Regions from separate parts of the Homo sapiens genome. Here regions 2 and 3 are each linked to region 1. The links are contacts of gene promoters, found by promoter capture Hi-C in human tissues and cell types (Jung and others, 2019). All regions are on one chromosome and are shown on one strand. The core of a region is centred on a gene start or on the middle of the fragment in contact, and the rest is flanking DNA. Distances in the headings are between cores, read along the strand shown.

Region 1 (3,283 bases), core at 285-2,784:
GGGAGCACACCCTCTTGAGGCTGGCAGGCCCTGCCTCCTGGGACTGTCTGATGCAGAAAGAAAATCCCTCCAACAGGGACAAAGACTTCTCCCCCGACACTCCTCTTTGGGGGCTGCTGTCCCGGGTGCCTTCCTGGGATGCGGCCTCTCTGGAGGGTCTGCACCGGCTCCAGCCCAGCACCATCCACCAAGCATCACCTGCCCCACCACGGCCCCGACCCAGCCACAGCTGACTAAAGCCTGTCATCCGCCCCAGCCTGGCAGGGCCTCTCACTCTGCCCAGACCCCATCCCTTCCTATACCAGGTCCCCTGCAGCCCCGGAGGACAAAGACGCCCTCCCAGGCTCTGTCGGTGCCCCCACAGCTCCAGGCAGGAGGTCTGGGCACGGAGGGCTGAGTGGAGAAGTGACCAGCGTGCAGTCCAGGCCCTGCAAGGGGAGGCGGAGGCAGGCAGGAAGTGCTTTCCTCCAGGACCACCTGAGGCCCTGCAGAGGGGACGCAGGAGGGATCCCTGCCCCACACCCTCCCTGGGAGTCACAGACACCCGTCCTGGAGGGTGCTCTGGCAGCCCCCTGGCGTACAGCCCCCCATGCACACAGGCCGAGCATCCCACCCAGACCCGGGCCTGGCCGGCTCTGCCGCACCTGTCCTCTGGAGCAGCTGCAGGCCCGGCTCAGCCCTCCCTACAGGCCCAGCGCTGCAGGCGGCCTGGGCTGCCAGACCTGGGGGCTCCATGCTGACCCTCCCCAAGCTGGGGTGCTGGCTCAGGGCGGGGACTGGGGGGGGACCCCTGCCTCCTCCCAGAGGACTGTTCCCCCAGCAATGTGGCAGTCACTCTGCCCTGCCCTACCGCAGCCCAGCCTCTCGTCTGCCTGGGAGGGGTCCAGGGTCAGCGCTAACCCACGCAGCACCCCTGGAGGCTGGGTTCGGGGGCCCTGCTCTGAGCGTTTCCACAAGCACAGCTCAACCCTCAGGTATGTGGGGCTTTGCTTCTGGGGGGCCCCTTGCTGCTCTGCTGGGGGGCTCAGGGCCTGCGTCCCCTCCGCCTACAGGGCCACCAGGCAGCCCCTCGGGCCTCAGTCTGCCCTGCTGGAAAGAGGGTTCTTCCGTCCAGGGCCCCCACCTGCGCTCCCAGGGGCGCCGGGGGGTCCGGGTCCGCACGGGGCTCTCGGGTTTCCCGGCGGGGTGACAGCGGCGGCGATTTTGGGCAAGCTGGCATTACTGCCCCGGGCCTCGGTAACCCGTGTCGCTACCCCCGCGCCCCCCGTCCCCCGCCCGCCCCGCTCACCTGCCACGGGCGACGGCTTCCGCAGCACCAGCCACCTACTCTTCCACTGCGGGGACAGGGGGGAGCGTGAGCCGCCGCCCGCGCCCGCGCCCCCCCCCCCCGCGCCCCCGACGCGCCCCGACCTTCTTGCCGTCCCGCAGCTTGACCTGGCCCTCCACCAGCGCCGCCTCGGTCATCTTCTGTCATGGTTCCGCGCCGCCGCGCTCGCCCCGGCGCCCCAGCCCAGGGTCACTTTCAAAATAGCTCGCAGGGCCCTGGGCTGGGCCAGGAGGGCGGGCCCGCGGGCAGGGCGGCGACACCGGCGACTCCAGGGCCGGCGCGGGCGGGGCTCCTTCTCCTGCGGGCGGCTCCCCCACCCCCACGGGCCCCTCTGGCCCCACCGTCCCGCGGCGGCCACTGGAGCCGCCCGCCCTCTGGAGCAAGCGCACCATCTGGGCTCAGACGCTCAGACCAGCGCCTGGCGGGGCGGGGGTCGGGCGGGGACTTCTTTTTCAAAAAGCAGAGACAACCACCTAGCAGACATCGGCCCCGCTCTGGGCACTGCTCCCAACTTTAAAGTTGGTCTTCAAACAATCCGGCTTCCCAGACTGGCATCTGCCCCTACCCCAGGGGTCACTAGACACCCGGACAACAGACTGGCCACAGGCAGCCCAGGCCTAGGATGCTCTCACATCCCCAGGCTTCCCCCACACTGAGGTGACCCCTCCCCAGGCAGGCAGTAGGGGTCGGGGAGCCCCTGGCAGCCTCTGTCTCTTCCTCCATTTCTGTTCCCATTAAAAGCCTGCAGGGACCCCAGTGCAGGTGGGCGGGTCCAGGACCCACAGTGCCGCCTCAGGGCCCCAGGTCTCCACCTCTTCTGCCCCCATCCCAGGCAAGAGCAGGCCCTGGTTAGGCCAGCCGGCTCCGATGGGCAGAGGAGCTGCCTGCTTTGTAAAGGACCTGCCAGCAGCCCTCCCAGCTGGGTGGACTTTGCGCTTCTGGACTCCCCCTCCTTGACCCTGTGGCTCCAGTCCAGCTGTCCCCAAGCTCTGGCCTGGGCATTAGATGTCACATCCAGGTTCTTCTGCAGAGAGGCCATGTGCTTTGGGGGACCTGGCAGGTCCGTGCCTTGGGTGTCAGCCCCATCCGAGAGACGGCCTCCACCACCCTGGGGTTGGGGACACCCAGCAGATACGGGAACAGCAGTGGGGAGGGGCGATGGCACCCTAGAAGATAAGCACCTGGACAAACAGCAAAGCTCCGTCCACATGCCCTACCCTAGACCCCATCCTCACGGGGCTGACGGTTCTCGGGGGAGAAGAAGGAAGGGGTAGACAGTGTCCCGTTAGGGAGGAGACGTCTTCATTTCATCCCATCCAGACCCTAGGCTGGGCTCTGTCTGCCTCGCACTGAGGAGCAAATGGAATCAGGGCAGCGTGAGGCCTCACAGCCAGGACTGAGCCACATCGGCTGACCTCAGAGCAGGGCTCAGAGGCATCGGGAGCCCTGGGCGCCCCTCCCCACTGCCCCTGTGATCCAAGAGACAGGTCTCCGGTGGGCCACAAGGGTTGGCTTTGGTGCTTCGGTGATGTCTTGTCAGGGCCTCATGCAAGGCGGGGGACACCAGGCCCAGGAAGCAGAATTTTGCATCCCCCACCCACCCCCGCAGTCACCTGTGCAGCCACCAGCCGCCTTCCGCAGAACAGTTGCTGGGTCACAGAGCCCCATTCATGCTCCCCACACATCCCAGGCCCCCAAGGGGCTGGCCCAGGACAGCCGGTGCGGAGGCGGGGGCCGTTGGGGCTGTAGCCACAGACACATCCGCTGCCCTGGGCGCCTGGCACTTGCTTATCCCTACAGGGAGAGGCAGGGCCCTGCTGCATTCCTGAGTGCTGGCCCGGGCCCAGGCTCCTGCCATGCCTGGCAGCTGCACCTGCTCCCACACAGCCTGGAACACACAGGATGCCGGAGGGTAGACAACTCCCTTCCCTGCTCCATGCGGCTCCAGGGCTGCTG
Region 2 (3,283 bases), core at 212-2,711, 110 kb after region 1:
GAAAGAATCATCAATTCTTAGAACTGGTATGAGGCACTCAACTGAGCCCTTTGAGCTCTCTGCTTCCATGACTCGCCTCTTCTGCCCTTGAAAGTCTCCTCTCAAACCAAGCCTCCCATTTTTTGTTAGAAGCTCTTTTTTACTTCATTTGGGATCTGAGTTAATAAAGGACCTTAATAAAGGACCTTGCATCTGTCTCGGATGATAAAAGACCTTTTGTCTCTTCTGGCAAGCCCCTTCTGGTATAAGGACAATGTCCCTCTGGTTACTACAGAATTTATATTCTGTCTGGTTCTGCACACCCGGTTTAATGTTTTGTTTGGACTGCATGCCTGGCTTAAAATTTCTGTGAACACACTTATTTTTTGTTTTATTTTGATTTGCTTACACACATCTGTATATGATTTGGCTCTTTTTTCCCTTGCTTGATTCTGGCCATGATCTGAGAGCAAAAATAAAGATTCTAAATAATGGGTATGGGATGGCCAATTAACAAGGGCAGTCAGCACCACATAAGGCACCAGTCTAAACTCCCTGACAGGAATTATAGGATTTTCTTTGCTCTTGAGAGATTAATAAGAAATGAAATGGGATTCTTAAACATTGAGGCACACCAAGTCTTCTAGGACTCTGGCCAGCTATACTGTGGTCCGTTCTCGTGTGGTGATGGGCAAACTACATCAGGAAAAACGCAGCACTGGACAGCCATTTTCTGTCTAAGCTTGTCAAAAACTGCAACTAACTACAGGGTTAACTCTCCATCTCTTTTTTCTGCCAACTTTGAATCTGATGACTTTTCTGCCAGCATTAAGATAAACTCATTGCTTATGGAAACTAAGATTTTCTTTTAAGTGTTAAAGGGCTTTCAAACTAATGGCTTTATAAATTATGCCAAATCTATGGCAACCAACGATGCAGACACCTTTTGGAAATGTAAATTTAGGTTTGTCTAACAATTGCTTAGGGTGATGAAAAAGCTAATTGAAAAATCGATATTCTAAAAAAAAAACTTTATAAATGTTTATATAAGCTAAGGGCTGTCAGATCAAACAGGTTAAAACCTTAAGCTCAGAGCAATACTAAAAGGTATCTCTGTCTGACATAAAAATTATTTTGTCTGACACTTAAGAGCCAGAAAAAGCAAACAAACAAAAAGATTTGTTACTAATTCAAGGCAACCTGAAAATTTTGTTGTTTTTTTTTAATACAATTTAGCCAGGCCTAGCTAAAATGTAAACATTTGAATATTCAACCCTAAATTCAATTGAATCTGAAAAAAGGATTAAAAGGTTTTTAAAAGTCAAACTGCTATGAAAACTGCTTTATCCATAATTCTGGTCCACAGCCTTCATTAATTACTTATCAGGGTAAACAGAACTTAGCCACAGATAAAAGTTCCGTTTTGTCAAAAATATAATTTGATCCAACTATATTTTATAAACCAGTGAATTTGTATTACTATGTTTTTCTGTTTCATGACCAAAATTCTAAAATGAAAGCCATAAGATCTTTATTTGTGTCTGTATTTGCTTTTATGTATGTTTATACATATTGTATGTTACATCTACATGATAAAATCTGACATAGTTAGCCAGAAATCCCTTAAGAAATTCTATTTGGATTGGCTTAAACAAGCACTCATGTAAAATATATAGTAATTAACCCAAATGCTTTTTAGTTCGTGTGACTTAAATAAATCTTTTTTGTTTTTTTTGTTTTTTGTTTTTTTGAGATAGGTTATTTCTCTGTCACCCAGGCTGGGGTGCAGTGGGACAAACATGGCTCACTGTGGCTTCAACCTCCTGGGCTCCAGTGATCCTTCCACCTCAGCCTCTTGAGTAGCTGGGACTACAGGTGTGTACCATCATACCTGCCTAATTTTTTTATTTTTTGTAGAGATGGGATCTTGCCATGTTGCCCAGGCTGGTCTCAAACTCCTGGGCTCAAGCAATCCTCTTGCCTCAGCCTCCCAAAGTGCTGGGATTATAGGCATGAGCCACCACACCCAGCTGACTTAAGTAAATCTTGGATAAATAAGTTGGTTTTAAATTTGTTGATAAAATAAAAATAGAAGTGTCTTCAAAACTGTCAGCATACATTTTTGCCCAGCTTTACTGGTCAGAGAGGATTATATTTATCTCTACTAGATGTCTTAAGGTTATAAAAGTATAAATCCAGACTAAAGACACAATTATCTTTATTTGTATAACTTTTTAATGACTAAGACTAACACTGTTAGTTTAATCAAAATTGCTGTATCTTCTGTGTTATCAGCAAAATACCCCTATATTTAAGTTTCTCAGGTGAAAACCTGATACTCATAGGCTATACAAATGGTGAAAAGGGAAATAACTTGAAATGAAGACTAGCTTTTTCTATATCTCAGTTTTCATAAGTAACCTAGGTATAATTATTAAAAATAAATAAAGTACATAAACGTAGATGGGAAAGTGCTTATAGACTGTCATGTAATCTGAAATCTTAAAGTTATGCTATGTTAAATTAAATGATACTCATAAAATGTCTAAGTCATTTCCATATAAGATAAAGTACTAAAACATACATTGCTGAACACAAATGTAAGTTTGTTCTTGGCTTATTAAATTTTAGAGAAGGACTAAATATATTTTTGCCTGTTAATACACAAAGTAATTATGTAACGGGAAAACATGTTTCCAAAAATTATAAAATGGTTCTCATCTATAAAATACTGATTCCAAGGTTTTCACTAAAAATTACAGTTACTAAGAGTTAAAGTTCTTACATATATATATTTCAGTATACAAAGTATACGAAAAGTAAGGTATGTTTCTGATGAGAAAAATTATGAGAGGAATAAAAATGTGTTCTTTATTGAAAAAAAGAGTAATTTTGTCTAGTTTGGAGATTATTTAAAATTTGTTTCAAAATATGGATTTAGAAAGCAAAGAGAAAGAAACCACTAAGTAGGAGAGCGAGAGATGTGAAGAAAGTTATAGGTATGTAGATGTATCTTAGTAAGGAAGGTTAAAAACAAAAATGAATAATTTTGTATGACAAAGACTCCTGTGTGGTAAATTTTTGTCCTAAAGTAAAATGCCTGTTGTTTTAAGAAAGAGGAAGTACAGAACAAAGCAGAAAGGCTTAAGGATGTCATCGAAGGCCTATATTGGTCATAAAAGTCTGTGAAAGATAAATTTACGAAATAAATTTTATATGATTAAGTTGGTTATAATTAGAAGAAAATTATGTGTAAGTCCTTCTAAAGACCAAACTTTAATATTAAAAATACACTAATACAAAG
Region 3 (3,283 bases), core at 364-2,863, 94 kb after region 1:
ACATGAAAACCATTTCCAAAGCTTATCCTTACAAGCATTTGCAGGTCCCACAGCTGCCACTCGCTAAAACAGGATAGCCAGGGTGCCACGCTTTCCTACCACTGATTAAATGAAAAGAAAAAGCCGGAACTACTTACCTGCTGGTCATTAGAAACATGGGTTTCGTTTGACAACTCTTTCCCCAAATTCATTGTAAGGCACCGAGCCACACTAGGCACCCGGGTCTAAGACACACCATTCAACACCGCAGCTTGTGCGTGTGAGAAAAGTTTAAAGGCATTTCCGATGAAGTTCCCTCTCGCTCCCTTCGTAACCCATGGCAACAGGACACTGCAGGAAGCTGTGGCTTGCCAGGGTTTCAGACTCTATCTCAATTGTCTCATCCAAAGAAAGAAGCGCCGTTTACATAAATCACGCTGTGAGATCATTTTTAAACTATTTCCTCTACCAAATCAGAAGAATAAAACTTCGGCCGACAGGGGTAATTTCTCAGTCAGTAAAACAGCTGCAGAGAATTTGTTTTTTTTAGCATCGTGGTGCAGTTCACAACCTTAATTACAGCTGCCAATGAATCTATTCTAAGCCTCCACATGCACCAGCTTACTGGGTGGCAGCCAGCGGGATCTGGCACACGCCTAAAGCCCTCTCAGTGCTATCTGTATTCCGTGATCTGCTCTGCCCACCCTCCAAATATATGAAACAACCAGAAAGCGAGTGAACCATGATGGATCCTGGCTCTAAAAAGGAAGGAGGAAAGAAAAAGAAAACTATTTGTAAAGCCTAGGGATCACTGCAAAATCATCTGTTAATTTTCTAGAGATTTAGGGGTAAACTGCTCATCCCAAAGTGCTTCCCTGCTGTCAAAATCATGCAGCATGGGCCACCTAGAGTCTCGTCCTAATGGGCTCTAGGAGTCCTAACCCTGAAACGTTAGGTTGAGGGAAGCTTCGCCATTAGACCTGGGGAAGCTTCTTGCCAGGAACTGCAAACTCAATGCCCACAGGGCCACCAGGCTAGGTCCATGGCTCTGGGGTCTGGGGTTGGGCTGCCAGCTGGGAAGGAACTGTGCCAGCTCTGCTTCTGCCTTTCTGTGGAGGAACATGAGCATTCCCCGCACGAGAGTGTTCAGTGAGCAGAACCCACAGCACTGGACACACACTTCGTTTCAGAAATGCACAATGGCTGCTTGCAGAATGCGCAGCAGCTCAAGCTTCCTTAGAAGGCTTTTCTCAGGAGCTGTGCACGTAACAAAAGTGTGGGGGAGTCTGCAGGGGCGGGGGGCAGGCGCCCAGCCACACCCCCAGCAAGCAGAGGAATCACCCCAAGGCAGCCACACCTCCCTCTGCACAGCTGCTCCTCGCTGAAAGGGGTGCCACCTCCACTTCTGTCACCAGCCCAGGAAGGGGCTCCCGCCCAAGCTACCGGGACCCCCGGTCAGCCCCATAGGTCTGGAGTGGCCTCAGAAGCCCTGTTCCTCGACAGGGCCCCGCCTCTACCTACCATGGCCCCACCCACTTCCCCTGGGCTCTGGGCCAGAGGGTCTACATTAGGTACGACAGGCATGGCAGGCAGTATGACAGAAGGCGGAGCACGTATAGACCAGACCACATCACCATTCCTGGGCTAAGCCACATCTCTCAGACAAAACCAGCATCCTCGTCCCCTGCCTTCCCGTCAGCATCCACCCCACCACACACACACAGGCACCCCCCAACACACACAGGCACCCCCCAACACACACAGGCACCCCCAACACACACAGGCACCCCCACACACACAGGCACCCCCCCTACACACACATGCACCCCACACACGTACCACACACACACATGTACCCCCCCACACACAGGTACCCACACACACACAGGCACACACACAGGCACCCCACACACACACACATGCACCCCACACACGTACCCCACACACACACGTACCCCACACACACACAGGCACCCACACACACACAGGCACCTCACACACAGGCACCCCCACACACAAAGGCACCCCACACACACACAGGCACCCACACACACACAGGCACTCACACACACACAGGCACCCCACACACACAGGCACCCACACACAGGCACGCACACACACAGGTGCACACACACACAGGCACACACACAGGCACACTTTCAGAGAAAGCAATCTGAAGGTTCTGGAACAACAGCAAGGGGTTCTGGGGTGGCTGGGTGAGCCCCTGACGCTGACCTGCCCGTTAACCTCATTGGCTTCTGAGGGGCCTGCACTACTGACAGTTTACAGAGCTTTGGAGGAGACAGTGGTCTCCAGGCGGGAGCAGAGGACAACAGCATCCTGGCCCCCCAGGGCCCCCAGACCCTGGGAACAGCCACCAGCGCCTGAGAACCGAAGGCAGCCTGGGCATGCGTGGGGCCTTCTGCTGAGGGGTTATCACCTAAGTGCTAAACTGATTTCACCTCAGTTCTTTCAGACAGAAACATCTTCATCCCATTGTGTTCCATCGAGGACGGAAAGGAAGAAACACAATTTCACATTGTCTACGTGGTTTATTCGCAAAGCCCACAAAGCAGCCCAGGCTGCTAGGGGTCCGCCTGTTGCTGTCCGGTCACTAACAACAGGGCCTCCAACAACAGGGCCTCCGGGTTCTCCTGTCTCTCTCTAGGCTCCCCCCATCTCCTCTTTTGTGGGAGCCTGTCCTTTTCTGCAGCTGCTGACCTCCCCTGCCTAGCCAGTAACTCCCCTCTGCAGATGGGTGAGGAAAGGGATGGGGCAGGGCCAGAACACGCCTGGGAGAACTCCTGTGACCGCCTGAGGGCCCCAGCAGCAAGTGCCCTGGGGAGACGGGGATGAGCCCCCTGCCACATGGTCAGAGGTCCAGGAGCTGCTGACAGCCACATCCCCAGAAGATTCTGGGCCCCAGCCCATTGCCCCTGCTTCGTGCTCCACCTCCCTTGTTTGGATGGATGTGTTTACTCAGTGCCTGGTGGGAGTCGGGTTCAGACCCCGGGCCCGGGAAGCCCAGCACAGCCCTTCACCAACACATGCATGGCCAGTCTGGGCACAGGAAGAAAGCACCGCAAGGCGGGAGCACCCGATCATGCGCTGCACAGGCACCGCCTCACCAGGACGGGGCGTGAAGAGAAAGTGGGCAGAGTGCTAGCTCGGAAAGGGCGAGCCGTTCTCAGCCCTCCAACGCAGGCCCACCGCGGATCCCAGAGAAGGCGAAGCCCCCGTGTGGTGAGCTCGGCAAGTGGGCATGTGAGCCTGGAGGCAGCTGTGGTGCAGCGGGGACTCAGGC

Evidence for each region. Contacts are between HindIII fragments. The study calls those that stand out against the background at their distance.
Region 2: a contact is called between a fragment that was not itself captured here and the fragment with the promoter of DOK7 in region 1, in 4 of the 25 tissues and cell types used here (bladder, dorsolateral prefrontal cortex, lymphoblastoid cells and 1 more).
Region 3: a fragment that was not itself captured here is called in contact with the fragment with the promoter of DOK7 in region 1 in 2 of the 25 tissues and cell types used here (lymphoblastoid cells and thymus).

Annotation. Positions count from the first base shown.
Region 1 is chr4:3,461,557-3,464,839 of GRCh38, reverse strand. It overlaps DOK7 (docking protein 7), which reads right to left and starts at 1,534. Exons shown (of 7, transcript NM_173660.5): 1 at 1,411-1,534; 2 at 1,289-1,334. The coding sequence starts at 1,464. RefSeq lists an enhancer at 1,909-2,756. The HindIII fragment of the contact is 11,592 bases long and covers 1-3,283 here.
Region 2 is chr4:3,349,128-3,352,410 of GRCh38, reverse strand. The region is part of intron 3 of RGS12 (regulator of G protein signaling 12); the gene reads right to left. Among named protein-coding and RNA genes, the nearest start is that of RGS12, 58 kb to the right of the region's middle. The HindIII fragment of the contact is 4,811 bases long and covers 1-3,283 here.
Region 3 is chr4:3,367,176-3,370,458 of GRCh38, reverse strand. All of the region lies in intron 3 of RGS12 (regulator of G protein signaling 12), which reads right to left. Among named protein-coding and RNA genes, the nearest start is that of HGFAC, 73 kb to the left of the region's middle. The HindIII fragment of the contact is 3,568 bases long and covers 1-3,283 here.